3 separate regions of the Homo sapiens genome follow, and all the other regions are linked to region 2. The links are contacts of gene promoters, found by promoter capture Hi-C in human tissues and cell types (Jung and others, 2019). All regions are on one chromosome and are shown on one strand. The core of a region is centred on a gene start or on the middle of the fragment in contact, and the rest is flanking DNA. Distances in the headings are between cores, read along the strand shown. Region 1 holds the start of LOC105377713 (a long non-coding RNA gene). Region 2 holds the start of SLIT3 (slit guidance ligand 3). Region 3 overlaps SLIT3 (slit guidance ligand 3).

Region 1 (4,202 bases), core at 428-2,927, 420 kb after region 2:
TGTTCCTCCTCCTAGTCTTGCAGGGGTAGGGGTGAAGGTGGGAACTGTCATTCTCTGCTCCTCCAAGAACAAAGCATGCCTGACATTGCAGGGAGAGCCCCAGGAAGCATTTCAAAAGCTCCACTGGAACTAGACAGCCTTTCAATCCATTTATCAAAGTGTCTGCAGTTCCCATTTCAAGGGTAGATGAAGCAATAATAAATTTGCGAAGAAAGTTAATCTGTGTCCAAAGCATTTTAGTAAATTAAAAAGGTGGGGAGGGTGGCTGGAAGGGGGATATATTGGTTCTTGCCAACTCCTATTTGACTTACTGTCTCCTTAATAAGTCCTCTTTGGTCTTGTGTTTTTGGATGGAATAATCAGTTGGTTAATCATTTTCCGGAAGCTGGAAAATGCACTTTAGCTAATGCAGTTCTCCTTTTCTCTCAGAGCCCTAATTATTTAAAAAGGCATCCCAATTCCTAGCCCTACTCCCCAACCAAGAAAGCCTTTCCCACCAGCCATCTTCCTTTACTTACCCAGAAAAATACTGCACACCTCCCACTCCTGCACCCTACTCCAATCTCATGCCTTTCTTCTAGTGTTTAGAAAAACAAAAATCCCCTTCTCAGGTCACTTCTGAGCATGTCTGCCCTCCTCAGCCCTGAGCTGCTTCCCTCGTGAAAGGGGAGACACTAAAACCCCAACAGGAAATTGGCCAGCGCTAGGCTCTTGGGCATCGTGGATAGATTTTGTTATTTTTATTTAAGTGTCAGTGGAAAATGGTGGCTCTTGTCTCTCTCGAGGATAGTACTTAATGATAGCTCCATGCTCTGGCACCACGTAGAGATAAACACACTATTAGGAACTCTCACAAAGGCCCTGCGATAATTGTGAAGGGACTGTTACCGAAAATGAAGCGCCCAGCCCTGAACCCTCCTCCACGCCCCATCAGTAACACCATTGAAGCTGTCAGTTTGTCAGCCCACTGGAGGTATTTATGAAATCAATATACAGTCCTGCAGATGGATGGCAGCAGTATTGTTAGCCGGAGAAGGGAAGCTCAATGGAAAATAAAATTAATAAAATTTACAAGCAGATTGTCATGGGGATCAGATAAATTCCCTACAATCTACTGTTTTGCTCAATTGGGACAGGAGGAAAGCAGTGACAGGGAGATGGGAAGAAAGCTGTGTTTCAACTGGCTCCGTAAAGTAGGAGCAAGGCTGGTTATATTTACAGCAAGAAAATAGTGAACAGAAACCAAAGCGCTGCCCCACCCAAGTGCAGGATTTTGCCTGTGTGGGAGGTCTCCCAGCAACATGGCCAGATTTTTCTGCTTAAATATCGCTCTCCTCTCCTCATCCCACCGTATTGCAAATCAGAACCTTTGTACGACTGCTACTCCTCCCAGTGTATTATGGGATGTTGTCTACTCAAACAAGGTTAGTGCATTACTGGAACACATGCCCCCTCATCCAGCTTCCAGCTATGGTTCAAGCTGACAGCTCTAAACCTCTCTCCTGTTTGCTCCCCCTGCCTCTGATTTTGATCATCAACCATTTTCCAAAAGTGTGACTGGGGCTCATCTTCCAGAGCCGCCAGAGAGAGCAGCCAATCCTGGGAGGGTAGTGGGCAAAGGCTCGGTGGCCTACAGACCAGCTTCATTTGGCAGAAAAGACTGGACTCATTGTGACTGCCAGAGCCTCGGGTGCTGCCCAGATGCCTGGTGGAAATTGCATTAGTCAGATGACAGGACCTGGGCCCCTGCTCCGGAGGCTGATGGAGAGCAGCTGAGTGGCCTTGGTGACACCGCCTGACCTCTGCTGTCATCGTGGGCTTTGTTCAGCGCCCCGACTCCAGGCTGGAGCCCTGCTCATTGAATCAGGCCTGGCTGGGGGAGCCTGAGACAGCGCTCATTGTGCATCTGAATTTACTTACATCGGTTGCAGACAGAGGAAACTGGATTTGAGATAGGGAGCACCCTGTTACTCAGCCCCAGAAGCCACTAGTACTCACACCGGCACTCTACCCCAAGTCAGCCTTGTTTTGTGGGCCTAAAAGTAGCCCCAGATGATCGTCAAGTTTCGTTTTAGCTAGCTGCTCAGAGCACATGGCTTGTCCCAGCAGCAGATGGGAGATCAGAAAAAAGTGGACACCTCTTTTCTGCTTCCTCTTTTCCCTCCTGCCCCTTTGCAAAATGTTCATTTAGACTGCCCAGATTTTAGTGGAGGGCAGTCGTCTGATGTCTCCTGCCAAATATAACTGGAGTCATCTAAAGCTTTTGATTAGGTGCCCTTGGAAAATCAGCATGGAGTGTCCACAGGTACAATCTGTCCGTAGGTCAACTCAGGACCCATTTAACCTGTGACCAGCAAGTTCTCCTTCTAGGACCCCGTACCAAGGAGATAGTTAGACAAGTGTCCCCAAAATGTGCATGCACAGAAGTTCACCCTAGTGTTTTCATTAAATAGCAAATAAATAAATGCCTACCCAACAATTTGGGACCCATATAGCCACTCATACAATTGGACGATATACAACCATTAAAAATGTTGATATCAATGCACTATTAATGACAGGGACAGATGTTCTCAATATAGCAAGCAAAAATAATAGGTTATAATAGACTGTATATTGTGAGGTCATATTGGTGGAATTTCATATATATATATATATATATATATATATATATCTCGTAATTGGTAGCAGTAGTTAGATCTGCAACGTTTTTTTTTTACCTTAATATTTGAGGGTTTTTCGGGTGTTCTTTTAAAAAATAATGTGTATGTATAGCACTGTGTGTGTGTGTGTGTGAGAGAGAGAGAGAGAGACACCTTTTATATCTGAAGAAAGTGTAAAGAGCTCATTGTGTCCCTAGCCCCCGGCTCTGCACCCCCCGACCACGCCATAGTCCTCAGAGAGGCTTCTGCAGCCTGTGGCTGTGCGGGAACAGCCTGGAAGGAGGCCTGGCATGAGTGTTTTGCAGGGCCAGTTTGCACGCTCTGGAGGCCTGATGGGTCGGTCTTTACAGATTGATTACTCGTTGAGATCCAAGCAGGCCTGCGTTCTTAGTGAAAACAAGTGCACATGTTTGGTCTAGCAAAAACTAAATGTGGGAAACAAACCAAAAAAAAAAAACAGCCCATATCTTTCTTAGAAAGGAAGTAAGGCTTTGGGAATGCTTACAGTCTGGGGACATAGGTTTAGCCAGCTGTAGAACCTGACACTATCCCTCACCCTCCTCAAAGCAACATGCTGGCACTGCTTAATGCTAGATGAGGTGCCTGTGGGACCCCCACTTTGCATGGACCTGTGGAAATGCAATTTGAAATTATCGTGCCTGTCACTAAGAAGGTCTAGGGGCCCCCAGGAATCTCTGGGACTCTCGAGTAAGCTGAAGTGGTCATCCCCCATCAGAAAATCAGAATGGGCAGGCTCTGTTCCAATCCCCTGTGACAAAGGCAGATTGTCCTGAGCAGCAGAGGACAGCACTGAGAGATGGGAGATTGAGCGGCGTTGACCCCACAGTGGGGGAGGAATGCCGTGTGGGGGTTGGGGGGATGGGGGGCAGGGGGTTGTCTCCGGGAGGTGGGAAAACAGAGAATTGGGTGCAGTGTGTGCAACAAATAACCCAGCCTCTTGGCTCGTGGCCTGGAGGTGCGAGACCACCCACAGAGCCTGCCCTGGAGGCGAGCTGCTCCGCCTGGTAACCATTTCAGCAACGGCCATCACTTGAAGAACAATGTGAATGCTTGTAGCAGCCTGGGGCCCGAGACCAAACAGCCGCCATACACTCTGACCGCAGAGGCAGCAGCCTGGGTGGGGGGGATTGTTATCATTTAATGAGATGCAGATCAAGACAGCCTGGGTCTTTAATGCAGTGTGCCTCTTCTCTTCTTGTTTAGAGATTTGAGTGAAAACCAGATCCAGGGGATCCCGAGGAAGGCGTTCCGCGGCATCACCGATGTGAAGAACCTGTAAGTGATGTTTTCCTTGCTTCACTACGTATGTGGCTAACTTGGGCTCTCTGACCAGAGTGAGGGTGAGGGATGGGACAAGAGGGTGGTCCAGGTGCCTTCAGAGATGAAATTGAGGGCTGTGCTTGAGTGATTTCTAGGGAACACACGTTGGATGCCACAATACTGTCACAGAAACCTGTGCTTTGCTGGTTAGTCATCCCCAGATATGAGCACTGGAGCCTCAGTGCCTGCTGAGTTAGA
Region 2 (4,094 bases), core at 50-2,549:
AAGGAAAATGAGGTAGAAGAAATCAGAATAGTATTCTTATGAAAGAAAAGAGAAGCGCTCTCAGGAGTATAGTTGTCACTATGTGAGTGTGTGTGCGAGCATGCATGTACACGTGTGTGTGATTGCCGGTGTATAAATGGGTGTGTGTGAGCCTGAGTATGTGAGAGTGTGTGCGTGGCTGTGAATACGTAGGCACCAGTGTGTGTGTATATATATGCAGGGCTCATTCAGGCCTTCTCAGTGTGAGGGGACCTCAAGGAAATCTGGGCAATACTTCCTCCAGTTCCTGCCCTTTCCTTTCAAACAAACAAACAAAATCATTCCTACAAGTATTTATGGAGCCTCTAACGCACACGCCCCTCCCCACTGGCATCTGGAAAAGCTCAGACCTAGCCAATTTAAAGCGGGCGCTGGAAGAAAGAAGGCGCTGGGGACAGAAGGGATGCCTCGTCTGCGAATGACTTTTGCAAAAACACGTTCTCTTCTGTGATGCTCCAAACAACCCAGGGAGGTGAGGCCAGGTAGGACTGTGGCCCCGGATTTGAGAAAACGAAGGCTCAGAGATGACACGATTGGCCCAGAGTCACCCAGTCAGGAAGCAGAAACCCGAGGATGGAACAAGGCATTGTCAATCCAGGGGTCCAAGTCGCTGCCATCACTACTTTTACCAGTCCACCAAGCGCTGGGTCTGGGCAAAGCAGGGCAAGTTTCCGGGTAAGGTTTGCCAGCAGTGACCTCAACAACATGGACCACGGTGTGTGTGTGTGTGTAGCTGTGGAGTACATTGGTGTCAACCAAGGCTCTTCAGGCAAAATTGTGGATCTCTGCCATGAGTACTAGGTGCGGTAGGGAAGCGGCTTCGTGGGCGACACTGCCATGGTTTGGCGTCCCTAGCAGCTGTGCGACCTCCAGCAAGTCGCTTCACTTCTCTGAGCTGTTTTCAGACGACCCCTTGGAAGATCGTGGACTTAAGTAAAGAATATGAGTAGAGTGCTCAGCTCAGTGCAAAAATTAAAAAAAAAAAAGTGTCAGGAGCCTTATCCGTCCTTGGATCTTAACAGTGAATGAGTTTCAGTGTTTCTTTCCAGGGGCCCTGCTGGCCGAGCCCCTTTCCTTCCCTGGTTCCTTCTCTCTCCCTCCTCTACTGCCTCCTCCCTCCAGGCTCTCGGTCGCTCCAGCAAAGTTCCCAACTTAGTCGACATGACGCGCGGCGCAGCCAATGGGAGGCGGAGTTGGCGTTTCTTGGTCGGGGGGGGGCCGGAGGGGTGGGCCCCGCGTCTCCGGTGTCTGCCGTGCTCACTGAATGGAGAGAGCGAGCGCCGGCCAGCTCACCCGGCCGCCCCGTGCCCCAGCCGCAGCCGCCGCGCTCCCCAGCCCAGCCCCAAGCCGGACCTCCCCGGGCGCCACGCCCCATTGCGCTCGCCCCAGGTCCCCAACCCGGCCCGCGGGCCAGCGGGGCCAGGGGGCGCTCCGCACCTGGGCACTCCCAGCGATGCGCAGCGGGGCAGCGCCGGCCCCGCCGATGGAGCTGCTGTTGCTGCCGCCGCCGCCGCCCGGAGCGCCCCGCTCCGCCCGCGCCCCGTGCGCCTGAGCACCGAGCTCGCCCCTCCTCCGCGCTAACTCCGCCGCCCGCTCCCCAGGCCGCCCGCGCTCCCCGCGCGCCTCCTCGGGCTCCACGCGTCTTGCCCCGCAGAGGCAGCCTCCTCCAGGAGCGGGGCCCTGCACACCATGGCCCCCGGGTGGGCAGGGGTCGGCGCCGCCGTGCGCGCCCGCCTGGCGCTGGCCTTGGCGCTGGCGAGCGTCCTGAGTGGGCCTCCAGCCGTCGCCTGCCCCACCAAGTGTACCTGCTCCGCTGCCAGCGTGGACTGCCACGGGCTGGGCCTCCGCGCGGTTCCTCGGGGCATCCCCCGCAACGCTGAGCGCCTGTGAGTACCCCTGCCCCACCCCACGCGGGCCACCCACCTGGGTCCCACCGAGGGGGCCCCAGGCGCCAGATCCGTCCTTTCCCCTCGGCCTCCCTGGATGCAGTCTCTATTCTCATCCCTTCCTGGATACGATCCCTCACTCTCCGAGCTGGGGGTCTGTAGGCTTGGTCAGATCTGGAAAGAGAGGTCTCGAAACCCCCAGCGATGGGCAAAGAGCAGTGCCTCTCCAGGGGTGAGGGTTCCAGACGCAGGGCCCGCTGACAGCTTCCAAGGAGTAGCTGAGGAGAGGCGAGGGGAGGCAAGAGCACTGCAGCCTCAAGGTCTTAGGGTGAGGGTCAGGGGTCTGCGCTCGTTAAAAAGGGGGGCGGGCGAAGGAGAAAGCTATAGGATGATGGGCCGTCAAGGCGCGGAGGCGGGAGAGAGGGCCCGAGACTGTTGACCTGCTTGGAGATCAGAATGGGCCAGCCGCTCTCTGGCTGCCCTTGCAAGGAAAGTTGAGAGTGTGGGTGAAGGTTTAACTTCTGAGGAACTGGACAGATTCAGAGTGGGTGCTCGCAAAACCCGCTCTGCCTGGAGCGCAGTCTGGGAGATGCCAAGTTGCAGCCCCGGGTGAATTTTTTATGGCTCGGTTATAAATGCCTCCCCGAACGAAGGGGCCGGAGAATGGAAATGCTGACAGCCCTTCAAATGAGACCGAGCGTTATAATCTTACAAACCGCACTCAGCCTCAGATCCTGGGCTTGGCAGCGAATGGAGAGGCGCTTGGAGAATGGGGTGGATTGACCCTAGTTTTAGCCCCAATTGTGCAACCAAATATTTACTTTTCATATGTCAACGTTTTGGAAACATTTATCATTTTGATCCTCGGACCAGATTCAAAACTTGGACTCCGGGGTGGGCTCCTCTTAGTCCGCAGTTGGGGTGGGGTAAGGGAGTGGGGGAGAAACGCTGGAGTGGGTGGGAAGCCTTACTGGGAACCCAGCCGAGAAGTGGGTGAGGGTTTGCTCTAGTGTGGTAGATTCCCTCCGTGTCTTGCTCTCCCTCTTCTCCCCTTCCTCATGTGCCTTAGGGGTAGGCGCCTGGATCTTCCACTCTGCTTTCTTGACTTCAGGCTGGAAGAGAGTAGTGATGACAAGCATTGTCCTAGAGTGTGTTATTCCTGCTAGTCACCTCCTATCACCCCACCTCCTCTTCTCTTCCACTTCTTTGTGCATCTCTGGGTGGAGACTCAGCAGAACTGTCTTCCTTATTCCTGGTGCTCTCTTTTTCCTTTGGCTCAGTACTTTTTTGTTTTTCCACAAGTGCAGTGATTGTTTTGTTGGGTTGAACCACAGAATCCTAAAGGGTGAGAGCCGAATCTTTATTAACACATGTCGAAAACCAGGCTTGGAAGTGTAAAATGACTTGCCCAAGAAAACACAGCAAGTTGACGGCAATAAAGGGGCTAGAATCCAGGTTTTCACACCTTAATTCAGACATTAAGTTAGTCCATAGGAGTGAAAAACTTGTTTTAGTGGTATTTTTAGATACCTATAACTTGTAAACTAAGTTCCCCTCCTCGTCACACCAGTGCTAGCCACATGAGTTAGTGAAATAATAATTATAGCTAATGTTTGATAAATGCTTTTCATGCCTTGATTTGTGTATATGTATTATCTCATTGAATCACTCCAACAGTCCTGTTAGTTACATAGGCAATGCTTATTACTCCCTTTCACAGTTAAGCCATCTTGTCATTTACTCAAGGTCGTGCAGCTAGTGAAGTGTTTGGATCCAAGCCTGACTGGTTCCTAAGCCCACAACCGTTATCACTCTCCTGGTCATCCTTGGAACAAGGGTCAGTTTGGGCCACGATCTATAAACAGACAGTCTTGGGAGGGTTCTGGCTGGGCTTGGATCTTAGAATAGGCTGCTGTTGCTTCTGCTTCTGGTATACCCTGCAAATGTTCAGCTCACTTTGATGTTAGGTCTGCTGCTTGGGGTCTCGCAACTACATCTTCCGCATCTTCAAAATCGTGCTCCATGTTTGGGAAACCAAGAAGAGTAAGTCCCTCTCCTCCTGGTGTGTAGGAAGTTTTCCAGAGCTGCAGGAACCGCACCCATGCCAGCATGCCACCGAGTCATCTTCCTTAGGGGATCTGTGCAGCTCAGGGCAACCCATCAGCTCTA
Region 3 (4,103 bases), core at 1,405-3,904, 270 kb after region 2:
TTGTGTATCTCACAGGAGTATTAGTTGTTGAAGTTGAAGTAGTGCCCCTGGCAATGCCTTAGAGGCACGAATGAGACTACATGAATAGGCACGATGGAGGTGGGGGCTGAGTGGAGAGAGAGGGTGCAGTTAGGGACCTCTGCTCAGAAGAGCCCTTGGTCAATTAGCAGTGGTTTGTCCCACACCTGAAAACATCTTGTTTTGCTTGTCCCACTATGAGCAGGTGTTAAGTGTTGTGGTTCAGGGATATATTCCACCTAGAAAAGTGTCTAGGCATGAACACAGCTCTTTGCCATTTGTGAAGATGGCCCTGGGTAATGAGAAACCAGCGCTTTGCTCTCTGGTCCCGGAAGAAGGTCGTCCAACTTAATACCGAGTGAAATCTCTGAACGTCAATAAGCTGCATTCATTTTGACATCTAGACTCCTGTGTAATTAAGATCTCAGGTCTGGCGTTTGGTTTATCGAGCATGTGTCAATTCTCATTTACATAAGACTTTGGTTTTTCCCACATCTCTGCACAGACGCCGCCAAAAAAAAATTACTATTAACAAGGAGAGGGCTGAGGATAGAGTTACACAGCCCATCGTGTCTCTAATCCCTGCTTAACATTTCCCTTAAAAAGAACATTGCCCTATTCGGAAATTAAATGCTGTGCGTTTAGATGTTCTTTATGGAGGGAGAGGGGAGGTAGGTTTTCCACTGCTTTATATTGAGCTTGAAAAACATCCGATTTCATGCCCCTTATTCAACTGTGAAGCAGAATTTGATGCATAATTGGAGGGTGGTTTCTTTATCTCGCTCTTAGAAAACAACTGGCTGAAGCTTCTCTCACCTCCCTGTAGCTGGATGTTAAAAGCTGAGGCTGGCCTCACAGATTCCCTAGGTGTATTCATCTAGTTCTGTTTATTCAAACTGAAGTCTGCTGGGTGTAACTGGATCCCACGAAGGAGGAAAGGCACTTCAGGGACTGCTGGAAACCATCCTTCCCTCTATTTGGAGCTTCCTCCAAGGCAAGGGCGATGCGGACCCAACACTTTGGATGCCTCTTCTTCTTTCCATGTTAATGGCTACAAAGCAGATGGGTTTATTTTTGCAACTCAAATGAGAAAAAACATATTTGAAAGAAGTTAGGGCACTTTCACAGGACCACACATGGAGTTGGTTATATGACCTGGGAAATAGGACAGTCTTTATAAGTCTTCATTTTCACATCAATAAAATGTGCTCGTCTGTAAAATTAGGGATGGGGAAAGAAGTCTAATAAAAAGGCTCAGAGAAAGGAGATGCTGGAGTTGATGTAACAGGATTCAAGACTCTACGATATTAACTGTTTCAAGTAGAAAACCATCAAGAAAGGATAGAAATTTAGGATTGCTTTCAAGGAGCCTCTCATTCCAGATTTACTACTTAGTACTGTGTGACCTTGGGCAAGTGACTGTACCTCTCTGGGCCTCAGATGCCTCATCTTGGAAATAGATTATCGTGGTACTCACTTTGTAGTCTTGTTGTGAAGAGTAAATGAGGTAATTCTTTTTTTTTTTTTTTTTTTTCCAGATGCAGTCTCACTGTCACCCAGGCTGGAGTGCAGTGGTGCGATCTTGGCTCACTGCAAGCTCCACCTCCTGGGTTCATGCCATTCTCCTGCCTCAGCCTCCCGAGCAGCTGGGACTACAGGTGCCCGCCACCACGCCTGGCTAATTTTTTGTGTTTTTAGTAGAGACGTGGTTTCACCGTGTGAGCCAGGATGGTCTCGATCTCCTGACCTCATGATCCACCTGCCTCGGCCTCCCAAAGTTTTGGGATTACAGGCGTGAGCCACTGTGCCTGGCCTAAATGAAGTAATTCTTATAAAGCACTTGGAAGAATACTGACATAAAGTTGGCCTTCAATGTTGCCATCAGTAGTAGCAGTATTACTCTTACTACTACTGTTAATATTATTGATCAAGATGACCCTCTCCTCTGGATAACATAACAGTGATTGTCTCCACTATGGCCAGGTTCTTCTCTTACAGTCTATCCACAATATTTGTCTAATCCTAGAAGTTCTAGAAGGCATCCAAGAATCTAAGTTAGTGGTTCTAAGTCTCAGTTCACATAAAAATTATCTTAAGGATGCTGGGCACTAGTGGCTCACACCTGTAATCCCAGCACTTTGGGAGGCCAAGGTGGGCAGATCGCTTGAGCTCAGGAGTTCAAGACCAGCCTGGGCAACATGACAAAACCCCGTCTCTACCAAAACACACACACACACACACACACACACACACACACACACACACACACTAGCTGGGCGTGGTGGCTTGTACCTGCAGTCCCAGCTACTTAAGGGGCTGAGGTGGGAGGATCTCCTGAGCATGGAGAGGTCAAGGCTGCAGTAAGCAGTGATTGCAAGCCACTGCACTCCAGTCTGGGTGACAGAGCAAGACTCTGTCTCAAAAAAAAAAAAAAATCATAGGAAATGTTTAAAAATCCTGAGGCTTGGGTCCCATGAACTGAGATTTTTATTTATTTGATCTAGCGTCTAGCTGGGCCTTATGACTTTTAGAAACACTCCAGGTGATTCCAAGGCACCACTTGGCCAGTGGAAGGCCATGTTAATTTTATATTGAAAAAGACCTAGAATATAAATGGTTTACTAGTCAACTAATTTTCCACAAGGGCACCAAGAGGACACAATGGGAAAAGGATAGTCTGTTCAATAAATGGTGCTGAGAAAACTGAATTTCCACATGTAAAAGAACGAAATTGGACCCTTAACTTATACCACTCACAAAAAATAGACTCAAAATGGATAAAAGACCTACATGTAAGATCTGAAACCATAAAACTCCTAGAAGAGAACACGGGGAAAAAGCTCCTGGACAATTGATTGGCCTTGACAGGTTTTTTTTGGATATTGCACCAAAGGCTCAGGACACAAAAGCAAAAGCAAATAAATGAGAGCACATCAAACTAAAAAGTGTCTGCATAGCAAAGGAAATAATCAACAAAATGAAACAGCTTATGGGTTGGGAAAAAAATATTTACAAGCCATATATATGGTAAAGGGTTAATATCCCAAATTCATAAAGAACTCATACAAAAGGCTGGGTGTGGTGGCTCACGCCTGTAATCCCAGCACTTTGGGAGGCTGAGGCAGGTGGATCACAAGGTCAAGAGATCAAGACCATCCTGGCCAACATGGTGAAAACCCGTCTCTACTAAAAATACAAAAAATTAGCCGGGCGTGGTGGTGGACACCTGTAGTCCCAGCTACTCGGGAGGCTGAGGCAGGAGAATCACTTGAACCCGGGAGGTGGAGGTTGCAGTGAGCCGAGATTGTGCCACTGCACTCCAGCCTGGTGACAGAGTGAGACTCCATCTCAAAAAAAAAAAAAAAAAAAAATCATACAATAGTGGAAAAACCACATAACCCAATTTAAAAATGGGCAAAAGACCTGAATAGGCATTTCTACAGAGAATATGCAAAAATGGCCCACAGGTATATGAAAAGGTGCTCAACATCATTCATCATTAATTAATTATTAATCAAAACCAGATGAGATACCACCTTACACCCATTTGGATGGCAACTATCAAGTCACAAGATAACAAATGTTGGTGAGGGTATGAAGAAAAGAGAACCCTTGTACATTGTTGCTGGGAATGTAGATTGGTCCAGCTGTTATGTAAAATAGTATGGATATTCCTAAGGAAATTAAAAATAAAATTACCAGATGACCTAACAATCTCTCTTCTGGGCACATACCCAAAGGAAATGAAATCACCGCCTCATAAAGAGACCTGCATGCCTGTGTTCACTGCAGCGTTGTGACAGTGAACATAGGCAACAACCTAAGTGTCCGGTGACAGACAAATGAATACACTGTGGTATATGTCTAGATTGGAATATTATTCAGCCCTAAAAAAGATCTTGCCTTTGCCACAACATAGACGAGCCTGGAGTGCACTGTGTTAAGTGAAATAAACCAGACAAAGAAAGAAAAAGATTGCATTGTTTCAAGTATATGTGGAATCTAAAAACAAACAAACAAACAAAAACCCAACTGTACAGAAATAGAGAACAAAACAGTGATTACCAGGCAGGGGATAGCTAGGG

What was found. Contacts are between HindIII fragments. The study calls those that stand out against the background at their distance.
Region 1: a contact is called between a fragment that was not itself captured here and the fragment with the promoter of SLIT3 in region 2, in 2 of the 25 tissues and cell types used here (heart left ventricle and thymus).
Region 3: a contact is called between a fragment that was not itself captured here and the fragment with the promoter of SLIT3 in region 2, in 3 of the 25 tissues and cell types used here (adrenal gland, dorsolateral prefrontal cortex and neural progenitor cells).

Annotation. Positions count from the first base shown.
Region 1 is chr5:168,883,022-168,887,223 of GRCh38, reverse strand. It overlaps SLIT3 (slit guidance ligand 3), which reads left to right. Exons shown (of 36, transcript NM_003062.4): 5 at 3,888-3,959. LOC105377713 (a long non-coding RNA gene) reads right to left here and starts at 652. Exons shown (of 4, transcript XR_941197.3): 1 at 519-652. The HindIII fragment of the contact is 4,078 bases long and covers 1-3,716 here.
Region 2 is chr5:169,298,344-169,302,437 of GRCh38, reverse strand. It overlaps SLIT3 (slit guidance ligand 3), which reads left to right and starts at 1,299. Exons shown (of 36, transcript NM_003062.4): 1 at 1,299-1,925. The coding sequence starts at 1,729. The HindIII fragment of the contact is 12,348 bases long and covers 1-4,094 here.
Region 3 is chr5:169,033,097-169,037,199 of GRCh38, reverse strand. The region is part of intron 4 of SLIT3 (slit guidance ligand 3); the gene reads left to right. It overlaps SLIT3-AS1 (SLIT3 antisense RNA 1), which reads right to left. Exons shown (of 5, transcript NR_109897.1): 4 at 835-1,069. Among named protein-coding and RNA genes, the nearest start is that of SLIT3-AS1, 22 kb to the right of the region's middle. The HindIII fragment of the contact is 5,303 bases long and covers 3-4,103 here.